Regions from separate parts of the Homo sapiens genome. Here regions 1 and 3 are each linked to region 2. The links are contacts of gene promoters, found by promoter capture Hi-C in blood cells and fetal thymus (Javierre and others, 2016). All regions are on one chromosome and are shown on one strand. Each heading gives the region's core, a stretch centred on a gene start or on the middle of the fragment in contact. The rest is flanking DNA. Distances are from core to core; before and after follow the strand shown. Region 1 has its middle 56 kb from the start of HEMK2. Region 2 holds the start of LTN1 (listerin E3 ubiquitin protein ligase 1). Region 3 holds the start of MAP3K7CL (MAP3K7 C-terminal like).

The links. Contacts are between HindIII fragments. The CHiCAGO score rates a contact against its expected background, and 5 or more counts as called.
Region 1: a fragment that was not itself captured here is called in contact with the fragment with the promoter of LTN1 in region 2 in 1 of 17 cell types (non-activated CD4 T cells); the score reaches 5.2 in non-activated CD4 T cells.
Region 3: a fragment that was not itself captured here is called in contact with the fragment with the promoter of LTN1 in region 2 in 1 of 17 cell types (neutrophils); the score reaches 6.2 in neutrophils.

The regions. Positions count from the first base shown.
Region 1 is chr21:28,826,738-28,831,125 of GRCh38, forward strand. It overlaps a transcript of HEMK2 not described here. Among named protein-coding and RNA genes, the nearest start is that of HEMK2, 56 kb to the right of the region's middle. The HindIII fragment of the contact is 4,724 bases long and covers 621-4,388 here.
Region 2 is chr21:28,990,994-28,995,039 of GRCh38, forward strand. It overlaps LTN1 (listerin E3 ubiquitin protein ligase 1), which reads right to left and starts at 1,884. Exons shown (of 30, transcript NM_015565.3): 1 at 1,771-1,884. The coding sequence starts at 1,812. LOC105372766 (a long non-coding RNA gene) reads left to right here and starts at 2,110. Exons shown (of 3, transcript XR_007067835.1): 1 at 2,110-2,138; 2 at 2,577-2,688; 3 at 2,789-3,188. RefSeq lists enhancers at 1,689-1,798, 2,109-2,168. The HindIII fragment of the contact is 7,723 bases long and covers 1-3,038 here.
Region 3 is chr21:29,129,644-29,133,867 of GRCh38, forward strand. MAP3K7CL (MAP3K7 C-terminal like) reads left to right here and starts at 1,001. Exons shown (of 5, transcript NM_001286620.2): 1 at 1,001-1,280; 2 at 3,663-3,771. The coding sequence starts at 3,702. RefSeq lists an enhancer at 4,098-4,224. The HindIII fragment of the contact is 6,543 bases long and covers 1-4,224 here.

The sequences.
Region 1 (4,388 bases), core at 1,733-4,232, 160 kb before region 2:
CTGCAAAATGCTGCTTATGTAGAAATAATCTTCTCAATCACACTTAAAATATTCACTATGATAATGAACTTTAGCCGCAGTGAATTGAGTGTCCCAATGTGCTGAGTCTTCATGATCAAGGAGAACCTGGCATAACCAGCATCTTCAAAATGCAAGTACCCTATGTCCTTCTGGAATGAGCCATGTCATCCAGTAAGTAGGCTGAAACAGAGGGATCCGACGAGGAGACTCTCCCAGAGCTGAAGTGGGAGTTCAGAGCAGAGTGGAGAAGATTGAAAATCTCCCAGATAACCTGGGAGAAAATGCCAGAAGAAACAGGAATTTGCCCATCCATTCAATCTTTCATTCAACAGATAGTTATGATGTGCCATCTCAATGCCAGACCCCATGCTAGGCAGAAAGGCTACAAAGTCTAATGGAACTGCTTTATAGGTATTTGTAATCAAATAGAACAAGCAGACAAATTAACAAGTAATTGCAGTACCTCTAAGACGTTTTATAATAAAAGGATATATGCAACCTCAGAGAAGCACAGATGAGAGAGAATTTTCCCCAGCCTTGTATTATTCTCAGTGCAACTAACTGTCTTTGATACCACAGTTAAGTCCTTCCTTCTCAGAAGCTTCTTCTTTGAGTCACTTTTGGGAAAAAAATAATTATTGCTTTTCTGAGAGATCAGAGTCTCATCAAATGTTATTGTGATTCTAAGACTGTCAACAGCTACCATTTAGTGATACCTACTATGTGCCAGGCACTACACTGAGTGTTTTGCACACATTACTCCACTCAATCCTCAGCCCTGCGTAACAAGCAGCATGCTCTCTCCACTTTAGAAATCAAGGGGAAATGAATCACAGTGGGATTAACTAGTTTACCCTCAGTCTGTCAATGATGGGGCAAGAAGTGAACACAGACAGTCCACTTCATGTTCAAGATCTTAACCACTATGTTGAAATCACTTATGTAGTGAACTATTAGAATGTCTATATTGATTATTTGTATTCTACTGTTATAATTGCATGCATCTAGTTTTTGCTTTGATGAGTTCTTACAAGAAATTGCATGCTGCTTTTAATACTTCCTTATTTGAGTTGATAATTTGCAACCATTTTATTTGAACCTATCTCTGTGGGACTTAACCACAACAGCTGCAATTTATTGAAAACTTGCTCTGAGCCAGTATATATCATCTCTGTCAATTCCCATAGTTCTCTGAGGGGTATGTATGTAGGTATGTGCATATACTTATATTCTTATATATGTATATGTAATGTAGAGTATCAGGTAACTTACCCCTTGTAGCTTAGGCTACAAGTCCTCCACTAGCATAGGCTTTTCTAAGGTTCCAGAAAGGGTTCTTAGAAACATGTTTGCATGTTCATACATTTTCTTATCTATTTTTGAAAGAGTATTTCGAAACTGATATAAGCGTAAGACCCACAAAGCCTGCAGACTACAGGTGATGGAAACAGGATTTGTGTGCAGATGTGCCCAACTCCAAGGGTTTAAAACCCCGTGACACAGTAAGTAAGGAGGAAGGGGTGGAGCAGTGGGATTTAGATGCACATGTTGGGCTTATCATGAGAGATTTCAAGCTAAGGAAAGAGGGGAGTTGATTTGAGGGGCTTTTCTCCTCTAAAGTGACCTTGAAGCCCTCATTTTAATGCTTCATGTGCCAACAAGAAGTAGAGAATGTAGGTAACTCTAATACGAATGAGGCTCTAAGAACTACTAGGTGAACACTCATAATAGTGGCACCAGTTCCGAACAACACATTTGTAAATAAATTGAAGCAGCCTTCAGTTTTTTCTAAACTAAGAAGCTACTAGACACTAAGCAGGTCAAACAGACCAAAGGCACTTTGGTGACACTTAGCTTAGGTAGCCCTTCGACTGCCAATCCATCATTATCTGAAAGTTCTGCATTGACCAACTGCTGTCAGAAAATGTTCCCTTTCTTCCAGAAATTCCATGCCAGCTCACCTTCCAAAAGTTTCCAGTGGGCTTGTTGATCTTTCACCCAAATAGCCACCTAACACTTTACGAATATCCATCTCTGTGAAGAAACCGACTCAGCTGCAACAACCTGTTTTTTTTAATTCATTAAGCCTTAGAATAGCATCTTTCTTAGTAAAATATAAATGCAATATTTAATAAAACTATATATACAGTGATTATTATAAGCAGGGAGAGGACAGGCTGAAAATGAGTGATTTTAACAAGAGCTTTAACAATTTTTAATAGACCTGCATTCCTTTACATTCCTGGTGTTTCTCAAACTTTAGTGGGTTTAAAGTTCATCTGGGGATTTATAAAAATTGCTGACTTCAAGAGCTCCTCTTAAAATTTCTAATTCTGAAGGCCTGGAGGGATCCTCAACAATCTTCATTTTTAACGATTTTGATGAAGATGGACTGCAGCTGTCTCTTGAGAAATGCTTCTTTAGAACAAGTGAAATTGCTAATTACACAGTAAGCACTTAGTCATCTACCATTACCCAAGTCTTGTTAGTTGTGAGTTGCCCCTTGGTATCTGCTAAGGTTTGAATGTGTCCCTCAGAAAGCATATGTTGGAAACTTAACCTTTAATGCAACAGTGTTTGTTGGGAGGTAGGTTCCAATGAGAGGTAATTAGAACATGAGGGCTCTGCATTTATGAATAGATGAATGTGTGGAAGTAGGTTCCTTATAAAATAAGGTCAGTCACCTTTCCTCTCTCCCATCCTCTTTTTGCCCTCTGACATCCTATGCCTTTCACCATGAGATGACACAGCAAGAAGGTCCCTGATAGATACCAGTGCTTCAATCTTGGACTTCCCAACTAAAGAACTATGAACCAATAAATTTCTGTTCATTACAAATTATCCAGTCTCAGGTATTCTGTTACAGCTGCACAAAACAGACTAAGGCAGTATCCCATTCTCAGCTGCAGCAATTCTTTTTAAGACAAAACTCCATGGATTTTAAGACATCTGAGTAGGGAGAGTTAATTATGTCCTCTCAAAGAGGTATTTTCCCTAGACCAATTAGTTTACAAGAACATACACTCTGTTTCTAAAACTTTGGAAAACAAAGATGTGGTTCATATCAGAGTGAAAATTTCATTGATACCCATTATAATGAACGTGTTTCATTTTGGCAAACTGTCATGAAATGTCCTGTTCATTTGGAGAAAATTCCTGGAAAGATGGTAGGCAGAGGTCCCAACTCCCAATACGGAATCCTAAGAGGGAGAAGATCTGTCTGCTCCCAGTCAGAGAAGGGTGGGCTCTTCCTACACTAAGATCTTAGCCACATTTTGTCTCCCTGAATTCTTGCCAGAGACTAGTCCTCCAGGCTGAGAGTATATCTTATATCTGTATAATTAGATAACAATTATGTTATCTAAAACTGAGAACCCTGGGTATGGTACATCCAGACACTTACGGCAGAAAATATTTGATATGGTTTGGCTCTGTGTCCCCACTCAAATCTCATGTCAAACTGTAATTCCCAATGTTGGGGGAGGGATCTGGTGGGAGGTAATTGGATCATGGGGGCAGATTTCTCCCTTGCTCTTGCGATAGTAAGTTCTCACGAGATCTGATAAATGTTTAAAGGTGTGTGGCACTTCCCCCCCTTCACTCTCTCTCTCTTTCTACCATGGTGAGACGTGCTTGCTTCCCCTTCACCTTCTGCCATGACGGTAAGTTTCCTGAGACCTTCCAGCCATGCTTCCTGTACAGCCTATGGAACTGTGAGTCAATTAAACCTCTTTCTTCATAAATTATCCAGGTCAGGTAGTTCTTTATAGCAGTGTGAGAACAGACTCTACAATATCTTCAAAATGTTGTTTATTTTTTAAAAAAATGTATGGATGGAGGCCAGGCGCGTGGCTCACGCCTGTAATCCCAGCACTTTGGGAGACCAAGGTGGGCAGATCATGAGGTCAAGAGATCAAGACCATTCTGGCTAACATGGTGAAACACTGTCTCTACTAAAAATACAAAAAATTAGCCGGGCATGGTGGCAGGCGCATGCAATCCCAGCTACTTGGGAGGCTGAGGCAGGAGAATCGCTTGAACCCAGGAGGAGGAAGTTGCAGTGAGCCAAGTTCGTGCCACTGCACTCCAGCCTGGGTGACAGAGCAAGACTCCATCTTTAAAAAAAAAAAAAAAAAAGAATGGTATCAGAAAGAATAGAAGGTGAAAGGAAGAAAGGAAATGGAAAATTAGTATTCTATCCATCTGTAGAAAATTTTTTAAAATATGTATTGTCTTTTATTCTGATTTCTTCTGGATTCCACTTTGTAGATTTATGAGCCCAGGACCACTGGTATTCAGTAAAGGAGTAGAAATCAATTTGTAGGGGCAGGAGGGATGCCATGTGTCATAGCTACGCAAACAGAAGA
Region 2 (4,046 bases), core at 634-3,133:
AGCCGTGATGGCCTGTACCTGTAGTCCTAGCTACTGGAAAGGCTAAGCTGGGAGGATCACTTGAACCCGAGAGGCGGAGATTGCAGTGAGCCAAGTTCACGCCTCTGCACTCCAGCCTGGGTAACAGAGCCAGACTCTGTCCCCGAAAAAAAAAAAAAAAAGATTAGCCAGGAGTCCTAGCTACTAAGGAGGCTGAGGTGGGAGGACTGACCGCTTGAGCCCAAGAGGTTGACACTGCAGTGGGCCATGATCATACCACCACACTCCAGGTTTGGAGACAGAGCGACCCTGTCTTACAAAAAAAAAAAAAAGAAAAAAGAGAACATTATTGGGATAACTACAGAAGTCTAAATACAAGGCTGTATCCTGGATTACAGTATTATACAAAAGTCAAAGTTTCTGCATACTATAACCATTATTATAATTGCTGCAGGCTAGAAAATGGCATTGTTTTTAGAAGATACATGCTGATGTATTTAGGAGTTAAGAGTCCCGACTTCTGCAACTAACTCTTATAAGTTCAGAAAAATACATAAATTAAGAGAGAGAAAGCAAATGCAACCAAGTATTAGCAATTGGTAAATGTAGGTAAAGAGTATATGGGATGTCGTTCTAATATTCTTGCAACTTTTCCTCATAAGAACTTTTCAAATATAAAACATTTGAGAAAATCTGTTAAATAAAAAACATTAAAAGATGCAAGTAAAGTGCTTAGCACAGTAACACAACAGGTTGCTATAATTGTTAATACTGTTATTATCTTCCAAAACAGATTAAGTGACAGATCTAAGAAAATGTGACATTGAAATCACTAGAATTAACTACATCAGAAACAGGAAAAAAAAGCATTCTCATAAAATTGGACTGTGCTATAATAAATCTAACACCATAAAAAAATACCATTACAAAACCCCTCATCGTGTAGTTTTACACGAATCCACTTTAAGGTCGTCCTTAAGCAAGTACTTAGTGAGCGTCTATTAGGTGCCAGTCTGTTCTAGGTTCCGAGGATAAAAACATTTGCTTTCAAAATACTTACGTCCTAGTGAACCAAGACAATAAATGTCATAAATACAATGGAGTAAAATAAAGTAGGAAGAACATGGGAGTGGGGAAGGGCTACCAAGAGGGTGATCATGGGAGACCTCACTGAGGTGTCGAGAGCAAAGTTTGGAGCCACCTAACTGAAGAGCGTTGGGAGCCGGCCAGGTAGTCAAGGCACAGTGAAGAGATCAGTGTGGCTGGATGAAGTAAGCCAAGAGGAGGGAGCTGAAGATGGGACTGCAGATGGAAAGGGGTAACAGGCAGTCCAGAAACCAAATATACCATCCTAAGAGCTTTAGCTTAGGAGAAGCCACTGTAGGTAGCAAAGGAGAGGCACAATCTGCGGTAACCTCCACAGTGGATTCACTTTAACATTCTCCCAACTCTCCTTCTTCCCAGCGCCGCCCTCCCCCAACCAACCCGCTACCTCGGCCAGATCACCTTCCAGTGAACCTGACACATTATCATTTCTTCATGAATATTATGGGTGTGTGCTCGGATGAGGACAGCTCTGGCATGGTACATCTTTTCTCTCACGATTCCCCAATCTGCTCAGAGATAACACAAACCGCTCTCAGGGACGCACACACAACAGAGAGGTCACACTCGACAGGGAAACACACGCCTCCCTACAGCCGCGCTCCACACACCCTCCAGCAACGCGCTGGGCGGAGCCAGCCGCCTCGAAGCGAGGCTCCCGGGTCGGCCGAGCCAGCCCCCGCTCACCCTCAGGTTCCCTTTAGTTCGCTGCTTGTTCTTCCCGCCCATGGTCGCGGTTGCAGCTGTACTCTGAGCACTCAGACCCCGGTTGACACGTCCGGGACACAACTTCCGGCTTCTGGCGGCGGAAGAGGACACCCTGTAATAACTTCCCCCGGGCCCTTTTCCGCCACCCACCCTGTCCATTTGCTGCCCCACTTCCGCTCCCGCCTCCCGCTGTGTCCCTGACCATCCGCCACCGGAGACGTCACAGCTAAAGCCACGCCTGTCTGAGTGATGTCATTCCTGGCCAATAGGAAGCCAAGCATTGGACCCGTGGCGCCAAATCCTGTCCTCCCCGCTTTCAGAAGCTAGGTTTGTTCCTTGCTTAGAGGGTAGGAAACTGGCGTGAATCATCAGAGGGGCAGTTTCACATAAGGGTAGCATTAGAATGTTATGGTAGAGGCTGTGGGAAGATGGGAGTGTTTTAGACTTCCAACATGATGCAATCATCAGTATCACCTGGGCGTTTTTTAGAAAAGGCCAACTCGGGCCCCTCAGAACTCCTGAATCAGATCCTGCATTTTGACAGTATTCCCAAGTCTTGTTAAAATTTGATTACTGCTGTAGGCACTATTCTCTCTAAATCTCCCCTCCCCGTCCCCTTTTATTCATATTGAAACTGTTAACGTGCAGTTTAGGAAAGAGGATAATGTGGGAGTCCCTATTAAAATTTGAAATGTACAAATCCTGTAACCCATTGATTGTGCGACTCAGAATCACACCAGAGAAACAAGTAAATGTGTGCTGGTTATTGTTTCTTGTCCACGCAGTCACCCTTTTATACTCAACTCCATGTTACTGGGGGGGCTTCTGCTAGATTCCACCAACAGGACGAACAAGAGGGAAACAAAGGCAAGAGGAAGAAGGGACTTGCTCCATTCTGTAAGCATCATGCCAGCAGCAGCTGCATTTTACCGTGGCAGGAGCAATTGCTTTAGCCAAAAGGTGGTTTTAATCTCTATCCTTTTTCCAACAATCACAGAATCAGCCTTATTGCACCCCTCAGAGATCACAGCAGCAGTCAGTGCTCTCCTCAGAGATCTGAATTCTACTTTCATGCGGCCCCTCCCCTGAGCTCCTGAGATAGCCAATGTTTGAGCCACCTCCTCAGAAGTTTGAGCCTCAACACCGTGGGATCCCTTCTTTGTGCTCCAGAGATCCAGTAACAGCCAGCCATCACCCTCTCTTCATTCTTCATAGGCCTGAACTAAGGTGTTCAGGGCCCTCCTTCAAGCTTTTAGGTTCTGATGACTCCAACCACTTCTTTTGTTCCATCCTTTCCTAGCTCTAGGAATGGTAGCTGCTACCTGCAGTGATTACCTGTTACCTTTTATAATTCCTTTTGACCAATTTCCCATATTAAAATATTTCTCAATAACTAATGTGATTTCTGTTTTCCTGACTGGACCCTGATTTTAAAATGCACACAAAAGCCAGGTGCAGTGGCTTATGCCTGTAATCCCACCACTGTGGGAGGCCGAGGCAGGTGGATCACCTGAAGTCAGGAGTTCGAGACCAGCCTGGCCAACATGGCAAAAACCCATCGCTACTAAAAATACGAAAATTAGCTGGGCAGTGGTGGCAGGTGCCTGCAATCCCAGCTACTTGGAAGGCTGAGGCACGAGAATCTCTTGAACCCGGGAGGCGAAGGTTGCAGTAAGCCAAGATCATGCCACTGCACTCCAGCCTGGGTGACAGAGCAGACTGTCTCAGAAAAAAGTCACACAAAGAGACATATTACAGGAGGTTCACAAAAACTTTATAATAGAAAGATAATTGTAAGCAACCTATGTCTATATATTGGAGAACTGCTAAATAAATTATATGTATTCAATAAGCTATTAGGCAACATTTAAGAAGAATAAGGTTTATCTGAACACACATAGGAAGAATTCTAAGACACATTCTTAAATAAAAAGCAAATACCAATATATACAGTATGATACCATTTGTGTTTTTAAAACCCACAACACAATAATATATATATATATATATTTATGCATATATATATAATATAAATACAGAGAATAGGCCGGGTGCGGTGGCTCACGCCTGTAATCCCAACACTTGGGGAGGCCGAGGTGGGTGGATTGCTTGAGGTCAGGAGTTTGAGACAAGCCTGACCAACATGGTGAAACGCCGTTGCTACTAAAATACAAAAATTAGCTGGGCATGGTGGCAGGCAGCCGTAATCCCAGCTACTAGGGAGGCTGAGGCAGGAGAATTGCTTGAACCCAGGA
Region 3 (4,224 bases), core at 1,304-3,803, 140 kb after region 2:
CAGGCTTTTGGGGAAATAACAAGAAGTGTGATTTCTGGGTCATGTGGTAAAAGTATGTTTGCTTTTGTAAGAAACTGCCCAACTGTTTACTAAAGTGGGATATACTATTATGTTTTCATTCCCACCAGCACGGAATGAAAGTTCCTGTTGCTCCACAGCCTCACCAACATTTGATGTTGTCAGTATTTTGAATTTGGGTTATTCCAATAGGTGTATAGTGGTATTTCATTGTTGTCTTAGTTTGCAATTCCCTAATGACATATGATGTTGATCATCTTTTCATATGCTTACTTGCCATCTGTATATTTTCTGTAGTGAGATATCTTTCAGATCTTTTGCCTATTTTTTGATTGGGTTGTTTGTTTTTCTGTTGTTGAATTTTAAGAGTTCATTGTATATTTTGGATGCCAGTCCATCATCTGATATGTATTTTGCATATTTTCTTTCAGTCTGTGGCTTGTGTTTGCCTTCTCCTAATATTTATTTTGCTTATTTAACCTCAAAAATCACAATCCAATTATTTTTTAAGTACCAATGACATCCAGGTTTACAGTTTTTAAAAAGGTTGACAAATCCTAATGCTGTATTCTTATTTACCATTGACTCCTTTTGTGGTTGGTTGCATTTGAAGAATGAATCGAGTCATCAAGCCCAACATGGGCTCAACCTCAAACCTCACATTCTTAACCAGGATCCTCGCTGCTATCATCTGAGAGTCAGCCTGTGGCCTGTCCAAGTTGGCTGGGTCTGGCTGAGCTGATTGGAGCGGCCGACATTTTTGCTGACTGGAGTCATGCTATCTTTGCCAGTTTGCTGGAATAGACACAGACACCGATTGGGTCACGCTGAAGACATTCCTGTCTTGTGAAGCAAGTCTGTTTGTATTTTAAGTTTGCCAGGACTAATGAATTAAAACATTTGGACTCCCCACAACTTGCTGTTTATCAATGCCTCTGACAGGAGGAGGGTTTTCTTTTGCTCTTGCTTTTTCTAGAAAGATGACAACATCCTGGCTGTTAGAGAGGCAAGGAAAGGAGAGAGGGGTTGTGAAGGGAAGCGGAAGGGAAGGGAAGGGAGGTCCCGTGGGACGCTGGGGTCTGGGGCAGAGCAGGTAGCAGCGTGCTGCCCTGACAGCTGTCTCCGCTCCTCAGATTGTCAGTGGCTGCTATGCAGCAGGTGCAGCCTGGTCTCTCACTGAGTCTCTACTCCACAAAGGCAACGACTGGCCAAGGCAGTGGCTGGCTCTGGGTTACACAAGTGCAGACACTCAACTAAGTGAGGTAAGCCAACAGGTGTGAAAACTGAACTAAATGCTCAGATCAGCAGCAACTTAACCAAAGCTCTGTTACAGCCTGTAGCCAAGAGAAGGAACCTGTGGTTCGTTTCCCCAGACGGTGTGATGAAAAGGCAAGTTGGTGTAGGGGCATTTGTGGTCAACATGGTGTGGAACTCAAAGTCCACTCAGTCTTGCCACCATCCTTTCATAGGCAGACAGATGTTCTCCATTGAGCGGAGGGGAGGGACTCTAATTAGCTGTGTTTATTAATTCCATTTCCTGTAGCTGGAAACCATACCAGAGGACTATTTACAAAATCCTTGAGGCAAATTTCTACCTCTTGTACTTGATTTCTTGGTGCGGGAAAGTGTTGGGGGATTTAGCCAAAAGAGGAGTGCAACTTTCCATCCTTAGATGTTATGCTAAAGTGATTCGGTGATTGTACAATGCATAACAGTAAAACTTTTCTTTTTAGCTAAAATGTTAAGGGAATTTTAATGGTTTCTTCTGTTGAATTTGAGACAATCCATGCCATTCCCTAGGTGGCTAACAAAATGCTTGATTCTGAGCAGGTAAGACTGGACAGAAGGGTGGCAGAGTTAAGATAAAACAAATCCTGAATCAAATAACAGATATTTTATATTACTCTTTTTTAAAATTAAATGTTTCATGTCACTATTTCTTTCTAACTTAGAATTACATGATATGGACAGTGGAGAGCTTTTTGGTGCATTGCTACTTGTAGTGCTAAATAAATGGGCCAAATTATGATTCTAACTGGATAATAAACAGTTGCTGGTTTTTCTCCAAAGCTATACTAGGGTTTTAATATAAGCCTGATCTTTTTTCATATGCTGGGTAAGATGATTCCATATGTATGTATGTCTAAATATACATGTATATATATATGCATTGGCTTTGGCTCTATAAATACTTTTAAAAACAAAATTCAGTGTTCTGGACACTATTTTTAGATAGATAGAGGAAAGTTATGGGAAAAAGTCAGAAACCGTGCTGTGAGAAAATGTCCTGCTAAAGCATTTCCCAGAATCTCTTTAAGGATGGCTAAAGAGATTATTTATACTTTGCCATTTTTAGAGCTATTTCCCTTAAAATATCATTCAGGTTTTTTGGTTTACTGTCTACATGAGAAGGAAAGTAGAGGGTTTAGGGGAGGTGGGACTAAAAATAGAAAAGTTAAATATATGTTTTTAAATAAGAAAGATATCATGTATTTATAACTATCTTTTCCTAGTCCCCTATAGACATCAAATTATCAAATATCTTGGTTAAAATATATTTGGGCTAAGTTCTCTGATTATAACCAGAAATATTCATGTGTTTTTGCCCATTCCATTTTATCTGCAGGATGTTTTTTTTCCATTCATTCTACCTTAATTAATTAAATGATGATTTGATAGCTGGAGTAGAATATCTATAGGATGTTTTTGAGTCTTGTCTTTGCTTTTATAGAGTGTTAAGATGTGCATCCTTAGAAATGTTTGGTAGACTTACAGGTAGTTAATCAGATATTTAAAGCATATGATATTCATCATATAACAGATATTTTAAAGTGGTTTTTGGTATTCTTTATTTATTTATTTATTTTAGACAGAGTCTCACTCTGTCGCCCAGGCTGGAGTGCAGTGGTACGATCTCGGTTGACTGCAACCTCTGCCTCCCGGGTTCAAGCGATTTTCTTGCCTCAGCTTCCCAAGTAGCTGGGATTACAGGTGCCTGCTAGCATGCCCCACTAATTTTTGAATTTTTGATAGAGATGGGGTTTTCTCATGTTGGTCAAGCTGGTCTCGAACTTCTGACCTCAGGGGATCTGCCTGCCTCGGCCTCCCAAAGTGTTGGGGTTACAGGCATGAGCCACCACACCCAGCGACTTTTGGTATTCTTTAAATGATTCCATGAAACCCATTCTTTGCCACTCTCAGATTAATAATTCAGATTTAATTTAGGCTTTTGAACATGAAAAGCAAGTCTAATCTGAAGCCATCTGATACCTTATTAAGACTATATCTCTTTTTATCCTCCTCAGTTGAAAGTAAAATACTTTATATGACCTTAAAGAGGCAGGATTGAACTGGTCCGTGTAAAAAGATATTGAGCAAGTAAGGCAGGTAGAGATATTTCCCATATTTCATTCATTCTAGATGTATATTGCAAAAGCAATTTTTTCTTGAGCCAAGAAAAAAAGATTTAAATGGGGCGGATGAATACTTTTGACATAGAAAAAGCTCAAAACTAGGAGTATCTTTAGAATAAGCAGGTAATGCTTACTAACCTTAATAACTTCACCTGTAATTTCCAAGGGCCTCTGAGTATTTAGGGGGATGATGCTGGATAAAGTGACAATGGCTCTCTCTTGCTGTCACAGCTGGAAGACCCAGGAGAAGGCGGAGGCTCAGGTGCCCACATGATCAGCACAGCCAGGGTACCTGCTGACAAGCCTGTACGCATCGCCTTTAGCCTCAATGACGCCTCAGGTATACTCTGCTCTGGAAGAAGGATTGTTTCCTTCATACCCCACCTTTCTAGCATCTTTTCTAATGCCACGCCTCTGTGGAAAATTTAAAGTTGCATGCTTGCATGACCTGATGATGGGGAATGTGATATTTCATCATGCATTGTTAGATGGCGGCTTCCAGAAATGCCTCTAGTGATGCTTTCCTCCACCTTGAGTTTTCGGGTCATTTAAACTCATTTTTTTTCTCCTCCCTCCCCATTCTAGCTTTCTTTTAGAATAAAATTCACTGAGCTACAACAATTTCTAACAATAGCAAAGTGTGTTATTGTTAAAACTGCATGAGGAAACTTTTATTAGGAGCTGGCAGTTGGTTAGGTAATATGAAAATATCACTGTTCCGTTTACAGCAACATTTGCTGAAGCGTAAGTTAGAAATGCTGGTTTCTCACTGGTGCTCCCACACTTCTGGCTA